Regions from separate parts of the Homo sapiens genome. Here region 1 is linked to region 2. The links are contacts of gene promoters, found by promoter capture Hi-C in blood cells and fetal thymus (Javierre and others, 2016). All regions are on one chromosome and are shown on one strand. Each heading gives the region's core, a stretch centred on a gene start or on the middle of the fragment in contact. The rest is flanking DNA. Distances are from core to core; before and after follow the strand shown. Region 1 holds the start of SLC25A43 (solute carrier family 25 member 43). Region 2 holds the start of LONRF3 (LON peptidase N-terminal domain and ring finger 3).

Evidence for each region. Contacts are between HindIII fragments. The CHiCAGO score rates a contact against its expected background, and 5 or more counts as called.
Region 1: the fragment with the promoter of SLC25A43 here is called in contact with the fragment with the promoter of LONRF3 in region 2 in 7 of 17 cell types (activated CD4 T cells, monocytes, naive CD8 T cells and 4 more); the score reaches 7.4 in activated CD4 T cells.

Annotation. Positions count from the first base shown.
Region 1 is chrX:119,397,338-119,403,937 of GRCh38, forward strand. SLC25A43 (solute carrier family 25 member 43) reads left to right here and starts at 1,999. Exons shown (of 5, transcript NM_145305.3): 1 at 1,999-2,341. The coding sequence starts at 2,067. RefSeq lists a silencer at 1,863-2,522. The HindIII fragment of the contact is 2,295 bases long and covers 583-2,877 here.
Region 2 is chrX:118,969,585-118,976,172 of GRCh38, forward strand. It overlaps LONRF3 (LON peptidase N-terminal domain and ring finger 3), which reads left to right and starts at 5,034. Exons shown (of 11, transcript NM_001031855.3): 1 at 5,034-6,013. The coding sequence starts at 5,197. The HindIII fragment of the contact is 6,269 bases long and covers 1,081-6,588 here.

The sequences.
Region 1 (6,600 bases), core at 749-3,248, 420 kb after region 2:
GTGCTGGGATTATAGGCGTGAGCCACCGCGCCCGGCCATACATTTTACTTTCAAGGTTAAAATAGGCCAGGCGCGGTGGCTCATGCCTGTAATTTCGGCACTTTGGGAGGCCGAGGCAGGTGGATCATCTGAGGTCAGGAATTCGAGACCAGCCTGGCCAACATGGCGAACCCCATCTCTACTGAAAATACAAAAAAATTAGTTGGGTATGGTGGCACATGCCTGTAGTCCCAGCTACTTAGGAGGCTGAGGCAGGAGAATCGCTTGAACCTAGGAGGCAGAGGTTACAGTGAGCCAAGACCATGCCACTGCACTTCACCCTGGGCGACAGAGCGAGACTCTGTCTCAAAAAAAAAAAAAACATAACTTGGCTGACCCAATCTCCATACAATGGGGTTATCACATGAAATGTTCCAGACCCACGAACTTCCTGAAAGAGCTTTAGAATCTTGTCCCGTTATCCAACAAAGGGCTTTAGGAAGTACCAGTACCCGAAGGTTTCCTTATTGTAATCCCCAAATTCCAATTCAAGCCCTTTTAAAGTCGGGGTCCTCCGGTCTTCAGAGTCATACATCTTTCTCAAGCTTCCCCCAGCCATCAAATTAGCTTACAACAAGACAGAAGAATTCACAAAACATGAAAATAAGCATTCCCCAATTGTTGAGAGCAGAGTATGGCTTCTGCAACTAGAACAAGTTCTCACAGTCAAAACCTTGTAATGTCATACTCAAGTGAGATTGACAGTGAAAAATAAAAAAGGAGAAACCCTGCAATGCCTTTTAGAAAACGTTCCTATAGCATTGTGTGTTAGTAAATGTAAATAACTATACAAGCCTAAAAACAACTATGTACCCGGAACATCTTGCTCACACCAACAGACTGCTGACAGTTCCTTTCCTTGTAATTATTAGTGACATGGCTTTTTTAGAAAAAAAAGAGACAGAAAGAAATTCTGAAATTCTGAAATTTTTGAACTGATTAAAGAATCCTCGGATTCTGGCCAAGCCTCTCTTAGCCATTCTTTGCCTCTATTGTTCTCTTAGCTTACAGAACCACTGAAAATGTCCCTACTGGAGTTAACTCTGCAGTCCTAGTAGACATATAGTGTAGCCGTTAGTGGAAACTGACATAAACCGCCCTAGATTTCAAACCGGTCTCTGCTTTGTAGGTAGCTGTGTGAGCCTGAGCAAGTCCTCTCTGTGTCTTGGTTTCCTCTCCTGTAAATGAATACCTAATCAGAACTAACACATATAAACTGCTTACCCATACCAGTCATTGTTCATTAATCCTTACAACAACCCCTAGGAGGAAAAAATTATAATCTCTGTTTTATAAAGCAACTGACACACAGAGAGGTTGAGTGACTTCCCCAAGGTCCCACAGCTGGTAAGCTGCAGAGCCAAGAATCTTACACAGGTTCAAGAGTCCAGATTCAAGTCCCCACACCCACACAGCCTCTGTCAATGAGGACATACGTACTTAGGGCCGTTTTGAGGATTACATGAGAACGTCTGTAAAGCCCAGTACTTGACAAGTGCCTGAGAGATAGCAACTGTGGTTGTTAGAATTTTTTACCTTCTGCACTGGGAAACCATCAAGGCTTTTTGGTTAGGCAGGAAAAAAAAATGGGTTGGAGGCAAGAGGAGGAGGAGGGAAGCGCCAGGGGAGGAAGACAGAGAAGTGGCACGTGAAAGGGAGAAAAGGGGCAAACCAGAGGAGAGGCAGGGAGGGGCGGCGGGGGCGCACTGAACATTTAGGAAGCAAGATGTCTAGCAGGCTGGGCCTTGAGAGAACAGTAACTGTTTCGCAACTGAAAGTCGCTACTCGAGCCTTGCCAACTGGGGAGACTATGCCCATGATATCCGCGGCCTCGGACCCCGGACCCTCCAGGCCCTCGCGCCCCACCCCCGACCAGCCTCGGGCCAGGCTAGGGCGTAGACGGGGCTTCCCGTCCCTCACGCGGGCCCGCCCCATGCCGGGCGGGGCCTGGGGCCCGCCACCTCCGCCCGTGGCCGGAGAGCCCCAGGCCCGAGCCACGCGGTCTTCCGGGCCCGGGTCGGGGCTCGATGGCTACGTGGAGGCGGGACGGCCGACTGACAGGCGGCCAAAGGCTGCTGTGCGCTGGGCTGGCGGGGACGCTCAGCCTCAGCCTCACCGCGCCCCTGGAGCTCGCCACCGTGCTGGCCCAGGTTGGCGTCGTGCGAGGCCACGCCCGGGGACCGTGGGCCACAGGGCACCGGGTGTGGCGGGCAGAGGGGCTCCGGGCCCTGTGGAAGGGGAACGCGGTGGCGTGCCTGCGCCTCTTCCCCTGCAGCGCCGTGCAGCTCGCCGCCTACCGCAAGTAAGAGCCGGGCGGGGCCGGGGAACCGGGAGACCGGACGGGGGTGGGGTGGGGGAGCCGCGGCCCGACGCCGCCCTGCTGCCTGGACTCGGGGCCCTGGAGTAGGGACGGCCCCCTTGTCGATCACCTGGGGACCCCTCGGGGCGGTGGGCCACCTCTATGGCCCCCAGAGTGCAGCCCCAATGCTTTTCACGTTCTCTTGGGGTTACCGCCCTGCAAGATGCAGTTTTGTGGTCCGCAGCCCTGGTCCGAGAGGCTTTCCGGATTGGACCGGGCGAGGAGGTGGAATGCAGCAAAGGATTTGGAGGAAAGGAATGAAAAGCTCTCCAGAGAGATGAGTCCTAACCATTTCCACCGTCCTCCAATTTGGAAACTTTTGCTTAGGCTGGCTTAGGAAGAGAGAGACCCTTTTAAAGGTGTTTTTGTCTGTGTGACCCAAGCCCCGAGAAGAAAGTGCTTGGTGTGGGGAAAGGACCCGATCCATCGATACGAAAAGGCCGCAGATTTTTGCCCACACATCTCCCCAACTTAAATGAAGCTTGACTTCAGGCTCCGACAGAGGCTGCAGCTTCCCCTCCCCAAGCTGAGAACGGCCCCCTCAGCCTACCGCTTCACCCCACTGGCCTCATTTATTTGGGCCTTTTCCACCTTCTCCCACATCAACAGCTGCTCCTTAGGAAAAGATCTAAAGGTGTAAATGCAGCCTTAAAGCTTCCACCGAGCTCAGAGGTACCTGCATTTGAACTGGAAACCAAGCCTGAAAGAATGAATTGGTAGTGATGGCATTTCAGGAAGCAGAGATGTTTCTGTATTGGGGGGACGGTCCCTGTGTTCCTCATTCAGTGGGCACAGTGGCATCTTTGATATCGCCTTGGCTCTGAATTAGACAAACAGCCCACATTTGGGAGAGTCGGTCTTGACCGCATAGTTTAGTCTTGGCGGCTAATAGTCAAAGGATTTTGCCTTGACACTGTCACTCACCTGGGAGGCCAGAGGTGGAAGGCTCACCTGGCAGCCGACAAGCCGAACGGAATCATCCTTATTACCTAGGCCTCTAGGCCAGTACTCATTTTGCCTCTGCCTGGAAATAGAGTTCCCTTCTCTTCCTCTGCAGAGGGACTCATGGGTGGGACCATGACATTTAGTTAAGGCCCTTTTTCCTCCCCACCTCTGCTTGCCCTCATCAACATCTGGCCTGCAGTCTGTAAACAGTTCTCCTCTGAGTCTTAATGACTCAGTTTCTCCCCCACTTCACCCTCTTCTCTACAAAGTAGTGTGGAAATCTTCCTTTGGATGGGATAAAATATGTCCAGAGGGGTGGGGGGCAGAACTTCAAAGGCTGGTTTAAGTATTGTGGCTCTTCTGCTAAGCACCTAGTATATGCACATTAGATTTTTTAAGCTCCTGCCTCCTGCCCTGTAAGGTCCATAGGACAGGAAGCATTGTGCCTGTTTTACAGATGCAGAATTGGGCTCAGAGTGATGACACCTCTTGTCAGTGACCGAGCTGAGCTCCACTACCTGGCCTTCTGACTCCAAATCTCATAGTCTTTCTGTTACATCATGCTGCCTCCCTGCATCCATTTGACACTAATTTAGTCAGGCTACATTAAGTCCCCACTGTGTGCACGATGCTGAGGACAATGCCAGGATGGAAGGGGCATGGTCCCTGTGCCCCAGGAGCTTACAGAGTAATAGAAGAGTAAGACTAATATGTCCATGACCATAACACACAAGGTAGCATGTGATTGTCATGGATAATGTGCTCTAGAAATGTACCCTTCTGATGAGCGATGAGGAGGAGAAAATGTGAAGACTTCATAGAGGAGAAAAAAATTTGAGTTTGGCATTGGGAGAATGAGGAGTCTGCTGGGCAGAGATGGAGAGAAAGATACTGCAGTTGATGTCAGCAAATGCACAGAGGTGGGAAGGCAAGCAGCACAACAGGAAGTCCAACCAGAAAAGCAGGTTGGAATGAGATATTAGAGGGTTGGATTAAGGGATTTGGACTTGACTTGGTATCCAAGGGTAGCTGTGGGAGGTTTTTGTGGGGGGTGGGGGGAGGTGTGTTGTGATTAAAGCAATTCAATGGAAATGATCGTCACATCGTGGCAGAGTAAGATGACTAGAGAGGAGGAAGAGTGGAGACAGCAGGGCCAGTTAGGAACCTGTTGCACTAGTCCACATAGCAGCTGAGGGCACCGGCAATAGGTGACCATGGGAGCAGAGAGGAGGAGATGTCTGGGAGAACGAGAACAGAGACTTACCTGGGCTAGGTTTGCTAGGAATTTTTTTTCCCCTACAGGATTATTTTCTTTCTGAAAACTAAAAGGAAGTATTTTGGTGAATGGCAAGGCATAGTTGGAAAGCAAAGTGTTTGATTAATCGCGATGCCATCCTTCCTACATCAACATGATACTCTTGATTCATCATTATACTGATTCATTTCTACTCTTTTCTGACCATGAATTTGCAAAACAGTTGGCTGGGGGCCTGTGATCATGGGTTTGAACAAAACATAAACATCCAGAATGTTCAGGGAATGGGGTAGTTAAGTGACTTGTCCACAAATGCAATTAATGGAAGAGCTGGAACTTGAAGCCAAGTCTTCTGGCTCCTTAGTTCAGGTCTCTGTCTACCATTGCACAGCAGAAATATCTGCTTAGTTGGATTGACGATCAAGAGTCCACTCAGTAGTCTGTTGGGAGCTAGGTTATTGTAATGGGTGGCTTTCAGATGTATCAAATAGAAGACCCCCCCGCCCTGGAACTTCACAACCGCTTGTCTATCTTATCTAATAAACGTTAGTTTGGGTCCCTGCAGCTCTGAAATTGTTCATAACCAACACTATTTCTTTATTGAATAAGCACTTCATGAGCTTATGTTTGGCTGCACTGGCTGCCAACCTGTTAGGTTGAAGTATTGGCAGTTATAATTACACATATCCAGGGTGTGTGTTGTATCTGTGCTGGCTGAAAGGAAGGGGTTGCTGCAATTCACCAGTGTATCCAGTCTCACTGGAAAAAGCTTCTGTGCATGTATGTGTGGGGGTGGGAGGAAGAACAGAAAAGGGAACAGTGCCGCCCTAGCAAATCAAAAGTTTAAGATGCATGGACTGAGATGACATCATTGGCGGATTATCAGGGTTGCCTGCCCTGACTCTGAGATTCTAAGGGGAACAATTGATAGGACTTATCTCTGTATCAGATGGGAGAAGTCTGCGAAAAAAGGACTTCCTATGGTTCTTCTTTTTAATTGTGTATATTTGATATTGAGACTCTATAAAAGAAACTGATATAAAATACGGCTCCTCTTCCTAGTTCATCAAGTCATTCAGTGAATTAAGGGCCTGTTTCCTCTCCGCTTGCCCCTACCAGTCATTTCCTTGTCAGAAGTGTTGAACTCCCTTAGGCTCTATGCTGAGGACTAACACAGGGTCTGATACATTGTAGACCTTCAATAAATGAGTAGTGAATTAACTATGCCCTAGAAGTGACCAAGTGGGATGGGGAATAAGAGTGGGACAAGGAGAATGAATGGTATTTCTTTGGGCATTTCAAACTCCACCTTCTAGGTGGTTCCAGCTTGCTGCAGACCGCCCCTCCAGTCAAAAATTTCTTTTTTTTTTTTTGGAAGAAGTATTGCTCTGTCGCCCAAGTTGGAGTGCAGTGACGCAATCTCGGCTCACTGCAACCTCCACCTCCCGGGTTCAAGCGATTCTCCTGCCTCAGCCTTCCGAGTAGCTGGGATTACAGGTGCACGCCACCATGCCTGGCTAATTTTTGTATTTTCAGTAGAGACGGGGTTTCACTATGTTGACCAGGCTGGTCTCGAATTCCTGACCTCGTGATCCACCTGCCTTGGCCTTCCAAAGTGCTGGGATTACAGGCGTGAGCCACCACGCCCAGCCCCAGTCAAAAATTTCTACTTCCTCTGTTTCCCCTGTCCTTTCTGAGGTCCCCCTCCAACTTGACTGGCCAGGGTATAGAAGAGGGAGGAACGAGGAAGTGGGCAGGCAGGCAGTACAACTGAGGCAGATAGTCTGTTGGTGAATGCCACCTGTTTGAGAAAAACCTCTGTCAAACTTGGTTTTTCCTCTGCTCTCACACCACAACAACAACCCTCAACACAGAAGACTTCTGTGACCAAATGAGTGTGGGGAACCCCACACTCTGATAAATGGACACCAACTAGGTGTCCTCTGATTCAGTTCTGACACTGTCTACCTGGACATAATGTCAGACCAAGCCACAGGTTAAG
Region 2 (6,588 bases), core at 3,784-6,283:
CTGAGCAACAGGAGCGAAACTCTGTCTCAAAAAAAAAAAAAAAGAAGGAGATGTTCTGTGCTCTTTAGCTTTCTGATCATATGAAAAAAAAAATTTTATAAACAAAGAGATATGAGCCCTAGCTTCCAATTTGGCTGTATCAAATTCATTATGACCTGTGGCAAGTCACTTGCCTTCTCTAGTGTTCAGTGGCCTCATTTGTGAAACCAGAGCTGATGTGTAAGCTAACTTTCCTTCCTTCCTTCCTTCCTTTTCTTTCCTTTTTTTTTTTTTTTTTTTTTTTTTGAAACAGAGTCTTGCTTTGTCGCCCAGGCTGGAGTGCAATGGTGCGATCTTGGCTCACTGTAACCTCCACTTCCTGGGTTCAAGCAATTCTCCTGCCTGAGACTCCTCAGTAGCTGGGATTACAGGCACGCGCCACCACTCCCGCTAATTTATTTTTTTAATTCTTAGTAGAGATGGGGGTTCACCATGTTGGTCAGGTTGGTCCTGAACTCCTGGCCTCAAGTGATCCACCCACCTCGGCCTCCCAAAGTTCTGGGATTACAGGCGTGAGCCACCATGCCCGGCTAAACTTTCTTTTAGTTGTGGGTTTTGGCTACTCTGTATAGCAAGGAGCGGTCTTGCTTTCCATATCAATACCATTAATGTCCATGGTTCCTTTTTTTCCCCCTGTAAGGACTGCAGATTTATGGGTCACCCCAGTTTATAAAATGAGAATATCAGATACAGAACAAATGTGTGCTTTGGCCAAGCTTCCAGGCATAGAGTGTGTGCATGTGTATGTGTGTGCGGGGTTGCTTACACCTTACTACAGGTCTCTGGCTTCGAATGGACTCTTTCGTCCCAGAGTTGCTCAGCAGGCCTTTCCAAGTACAGGACTGTCAACCATTTGTTGTTTGTGTGCCCAGTCTCTGCTTTGTGAATGACCACAGTGCATGGCATTCCAACTGTTTCCTCTTGTCCCTCTGCACACTCCTAGGGCCAGAATGTCCACTGGCATGTTCAGTAAGATCTGTTCAAGCACTGTCCTGCTTATGTCACTGGAGGAGATATAAGACACCAGTCCTTGCCCTCTGAAGCTTCTAGCCTACATGGGAAGCCAGTACAAGGATGTGTGTATGTGGGGAAAGATGCACTATCATAAGTGAGGGAGAGCCTGGGAGTTATGTGCTGCTTTTTTTTTTTTTTTTTTTTGACAGAGTCTCTCACTCTGTCGCCCAGACTGGAGTGCAGTGGCGTGATCTTGGCTCACTGCAACCTCTGCTTCCTGGCTTCAAACCGTTCTCCTGCCTCAGACTTCCAAGTAGCTGGGATTACAGGCGTGCACCATGATGCCCTGCTATTTTTTTTTTTTTTTTGTATTTTTAGTAGAGACGGGGTTTCGCCGTGATCAACCCACCTCAGCCTCCCTAGGTGCTGGGATTACAGGCATGAGCCATCACACCCGGCTGCTGCTTTGATGTGTCTCCAGTATCTAGAACAGTCCTTGGTATGTGGAAGATGCCCAACAAATATATGAAAATGTGTGAAAATTGCTATGGTTTTCAAACTTGATATTGTAAGGGACAGCTTTTCTTCAAAGAAATCATACCTGGAGGCTCAGTTATGTGAAACAGATGGATACAATACTGCCCTGCTTGAGGGGAGCTAGGGTCAAAGCCTGTCTGCTTGTCTCCTCTGAGCCCCAAAGAGATTCTTGAGAGTCCAGTTGGAAAACTACTAGTTGAAAATGAGGGGCAGCTCAATCCTTGCTCTCTCTTCTTGGTTAACCTTAGCCACAAGGTGATCCTAGCAAAATAAATGGAGGTTTAAAGAACCTTACACTCCAAAGGGAATATTTGCACCTGAAAAAGATGGTGTTAATCTCCCCCTTCCCCTCATTCCAGGGGGGCTCCAATTAGTAAGAGCAGAGGGAAGGAAATTCTGAGTAGGAGACTTCTGAATTGGTTCAACAATGTCTATCAATGTAATGGTAATATTTGTTTAACTTAAACAAACAAAGAAAGAAAACCACTGTGATAATGTTTTTCAGCATTCAATAGAAACCCACTTGGTGTTGTCCTACAGGCAGTCTTGATTACAATGTAAAACTCCCTGTGGAGTCTGGTCAGTGAGTAGCTGGTACTGCCATTTACACCAGAGTACCTCGCATTATCCAGACTGCTATTCACATTCCTGACCAAGTTCACGGTCAACCTCCTGCACTGGCAGCCAAGAGGGCCTGCCTGGAGAGAGCTTCTCTTCTCCATGCCTGCAGGACTGTGACTCTCTACCTGACCTGGCCCTCTCTTAGCCTTCCTACCATAACAGGGCAAGGGAGGGGAATCAACCCAGGGGATATTCCCTTGTCAAGGTCATCCACGGAGCAAAGCACATCCCAGATTTGCATCTAGGAAACAATTTTGGGTAACAGACATATATATATATATTTTAGATATGTCAAAGGGGTAAAGCTCTTGAATTAAGATGGTTTCATCATTATCTATCTCATGAATCTCTACCTTCCCCAACGACTGTCCTTCCTCACAGATGCCTGAAGGGGCAGGCAGATAATTAGTGCTGGGGACCTCATTTGATAGTAGGGGAAACTGAGAGGTGAAAAGAGCTCCCTTCAGTTAGATAGCAACTCACCAGGAACTCCAGTTTCTCCCCTACTGCTTGGTATGGCCACCTCCTCCACCTCTTAGCCAGTCCTCCGACTTCTACATCTTAAAAATCTAGCTCAGGGGCCAGGCGCGGTGGCTCACACCTGTAATTCCAGCACTTTGGGAGGCTGAGGCGGGCGGATCACCTGAGGTCAGGAGTTCGAGACCAGCCTGACCAACATGGAGAAACCCCGTCTCTACTAAAAATACAAAAAAATTAGCCAGCTGTGGTGGCACGTGCCTGTAATCCCAGCTACTTGGGAGGCTGAGGCAGGAGAATCACTTGAACCTGGGAGGCGGAGGTTGTGGTGAGCTGAGATCGTTCCATTGCACTCCAGCCTGGGCAACAATAGCCAAACTCCATCTCAAAAAAAAAAAAAAAATCTAGCTCAGGTCTGACCCCGACTAAATGGACAATCTTCCATTGATTTCCCATCCCCTCAACCCCGGTTCAAGCCACCATCCACAGCATTTGGACTAGTCATTTGTACTTAAGTAACTGAGTTAGTATCATGAAATTTGGTCTTAGGATCAAAGCCACTCAAGGTTAGAGCTGGAGGGAACCTTGGAGATTAAGAGAAACTAAGGTTTGGAGAACCTACCTAAGGTTTCATAGCAAATATGTGACAAATCCAAGGCTTCAAGCCAAGTTTTCCAATGTGTCCCTCGTGCTTTCCTGACTACATCTGGAGTTTCTCTATTTCTTCTTCTCCTTCTCCTTCTTCTTCATTTTTTTTTTTTTTCGTGTGTGTGTCTTTTTTCCCCTATGTGATGCTTCCTTTCTGCCCTGTGACCCTCTCCCTCTGTCCTGTCTTATTAGAAAGAGGCTCTAGAGCTGGCTGCATAGTACCTGTTCTCTGGGACCTTGGTGTTGATCTAAGACTGGTTTAACTACCTAAAGAGAAGCAGAGACCCGAGGGGGCCTGCCATAACCCAACTCTGAAACATGACTTAATCCCAAGTAAGATCAGCTCTAACATTTGTTCAGAAGCAAAAATGATGGATTCTAAAGTTTGACTTCCCCAAGGTCATCTGGCTAAGAGGTGGCTGCAGCAGGGGGCAACAATAGGTCTTCAGGCCCCTGGGGCGGCAACCTGGCACTGCCCAAGAGCCCGCAGGCTCTGAAGGCCAACTGAGCCAGCGGCAAGCCTAGTCCCTGCCTCCCTGCTTGGAGCAGTGCGACTATACCGTTTTCTGTCTGCTCATTTGTGAGCTTGGTTCCCGTCCTAAATGTGGGGGTTCAAGGCAGACAAAGAGTGTGCAGTTGGCCACCCCGCTCGCCTTCAGGAAGTGTGTAGGACACCGTCGAGGCCCCCTAGCCATTGTAAACCAGGCGCTGAGGCTCGTGCCCAGTTGTACCCTTCCCGCGCAGCGCTCAGGAGCGACAAACCTGGAGGCTATTCGGTCTGCCACTGGGCTGTGCCGGGATTCGCGGACTTTCTCCTGAATAGCGCTCTCAGCTCGCGTCTTCCCCCTGCCACTCTCCCACGCCCCCAGAGTACCCACCGACCCCAGCAGGCCGGGTACATCCCTGCCGCGCCCATCCGGCCAGTGGCTCCAGGGGCCGGCCTGGTGTGTCTCCAGCTGGGCGCCTACCGCCTGCCCCAGCGCTAGTTCTGGCGTTGGGGGTAGAGAGGTAAAGAGGGGAGTTAGCGGGGCATCTCCCTCCCAGGGCTGAGCCGGCAAGCGCATCTTCTCCGCGAGTTCCTCACTGTCCAGCGAGCGCTGCCCAACTTCTGCGCCGGTGGGACCCGCTGCTCTGAGTCACTCTTGGCACAGAACACCAAGCACCCTCAGAAACCGAATTCACCACCTTTGGGAGGCTCCTGGGAGAAGGCAAGGAACCCAGGCGGGGCTCCCAGGGCTCTCGGGCTGGGACTGGGTTGTGTGTGTGTGGGGGGGCTTCACGGATACCCCTCCCAACCTGCTTCCTTTCCCTGACAGCAGCCATCTCCCCCAAGAGGGAGAGTCTTAGGCGTCCCGGAAGACCCTGCGGACTGTGCACCTCGAGGTACCAGCCTCTCCTGGGAGGAGTGGGGGGCCGCTGGTCAGCGGCTGGCAGAGGGGACCTGTTTGCTGGCCCGTTTGGAGGTGGGATGGAGTGGGGTTTGGAGACTGAGAAGCCCAAGAGAAGACACTGAGTTTCTCCCCACCCCACAACCCCACTTCCGAAAAAGAACCAGGTGGTGAGGAGGAATAAGGCGAAGTGTAAACACAAACAACCTCAAAAAGAAGCCAAGAAAAGCGAAGCCCAAAGAAGCAAGAGCAACACTGTTACAAAACTGTCTGGTTTTGTAACAATTTCCCCGCCGCCGGCCAATGAACAGCGTGGCGGCACGTCACGTGGTACCGTTTTATATAACACTTTGCTGAGACAAGACAGTTATTAGGCGGCGCGGGGCGGCCGGCATGGAGCTCCCGGAGGCGCGGCAGGGTCAGGAGCTCGGTGGCATGGCGGCGGTGGCTGCCCCGATTTCCTCCAGCTGCCACTCCTTGCTTCGTGTCCCCGGTCCCTAGACGCCTCGTCTCCTCCCGTGTCCCTCTTCCCATGGAGTCAGTACGGATCGAACAGATGCTGAGCTTGCCCGCTGAGGTCAGCAGCGACAACTTGGAGTCGGCGGAGCGAGGGGCATCAGCGGCCCAAGTAGACATGGGCCCCCACCCAAAGGTGGCTGCAGAGGGCCCCGCACCTCTACCGACGCGGGAGCCAGAGCAAGAGCAGTCTCCGGGGACCTCAACGCCGGAGAGCAAAGTCCTGCTCACGCAGGCAGACGCCTTGGCGTCCCGGGGGCGAATCCGTGAAGCCCTCGAGGTGTATAGACAGCTCTCCGAGCGGCAGCAGCTGGTGGCTGAGCAGCTGGAGCAGCTGGTGCGCTGCCTGGCGGAGAAAGTCCCGCAAGGCGAGGCGCTGGCGCCGGCGCCCCCGGACGAGGGTAGCACTGCAAGCGGCACCGTGGCGGCGGAAGAGACGGGGGCCGCCGCGGCTGCGGCGGCCACCGAGGTGTGGGACGGCTTTAAGTGCCGGAAATGTCATGGGTTTCTATCAGACCCCGTGTCCTTGTCGTGTGGCCACACCTTTTGTAAACTGTGCCTGGAACGTGGGCGGGCCGCCGACCGGCGCTGTGCGCTGTGCGGGGTCAAGCTCTCCGCCTTGATGGTGGCCACTGGGCGGGCGCGTGGAGCCCGGCGGGCTGGGCAGCAGCCGCCGCCGCCGCTGCGAGTCAACGTGGTGCTCAGCGGCCTCCTCGGCAAGTTGTTTCCAGGCCCAGCGCGAGCGTCGCAACTCCGGCACGAGGGCAACCGACTGTACCGCGAGCGCCAGGTGGAGGCGGCACTGCTCAAGTACAACGAGGCAGTTAAGTTGGGTGAGTCCAACGCGCTGCCGGGCCGGGGCTGGGGCTCGGTGGCTACATGAGGGAGCGGGAGAACAAACCCCGCAGCGAGAAGGGATTTGGACCAGGGCAGAAGAGGGGGCGGGGGACCCATGGACTGTGGCGGGGTGGGGGAGGGGTGATTCTGGGGCTGGGTCTCTGAGTTTGTTCTGTTTTCACTGCTTATCTGTGTTTCACTGTGTTTGTGTTGATCTCGGTTGCTTTTTGTCTTTTCCTGCTACTTCTGTTAGCTTTTGTGTTCCTGTCTCTCAGTCCCCGTTCCTGTCTGTGTCTCCTTGCTTCTGGTTCTTTTTCTCCGTCTCTTCGTATCTTTGTCACTGTTTCTTTCTTTTTCGGTGTCACTGTCTCTGTTCCTCTGACTCTCCTTCTCCCGCTGCACTCCTGGTCTCCTCTTACACCTGCTCGCACCTTCCCAGCGAGGAGAGGAACTTCGCGCGCTCCTCGCACTTGCGCCCGGTCCTCTGGGCTGTAGCCAGCAGGAGATGTCCGGTCGGCGCCTGCGTCCGCCGCTCGCGCCGCCGGGTGTTGCCCCTTCCGGGGCCGCGGCT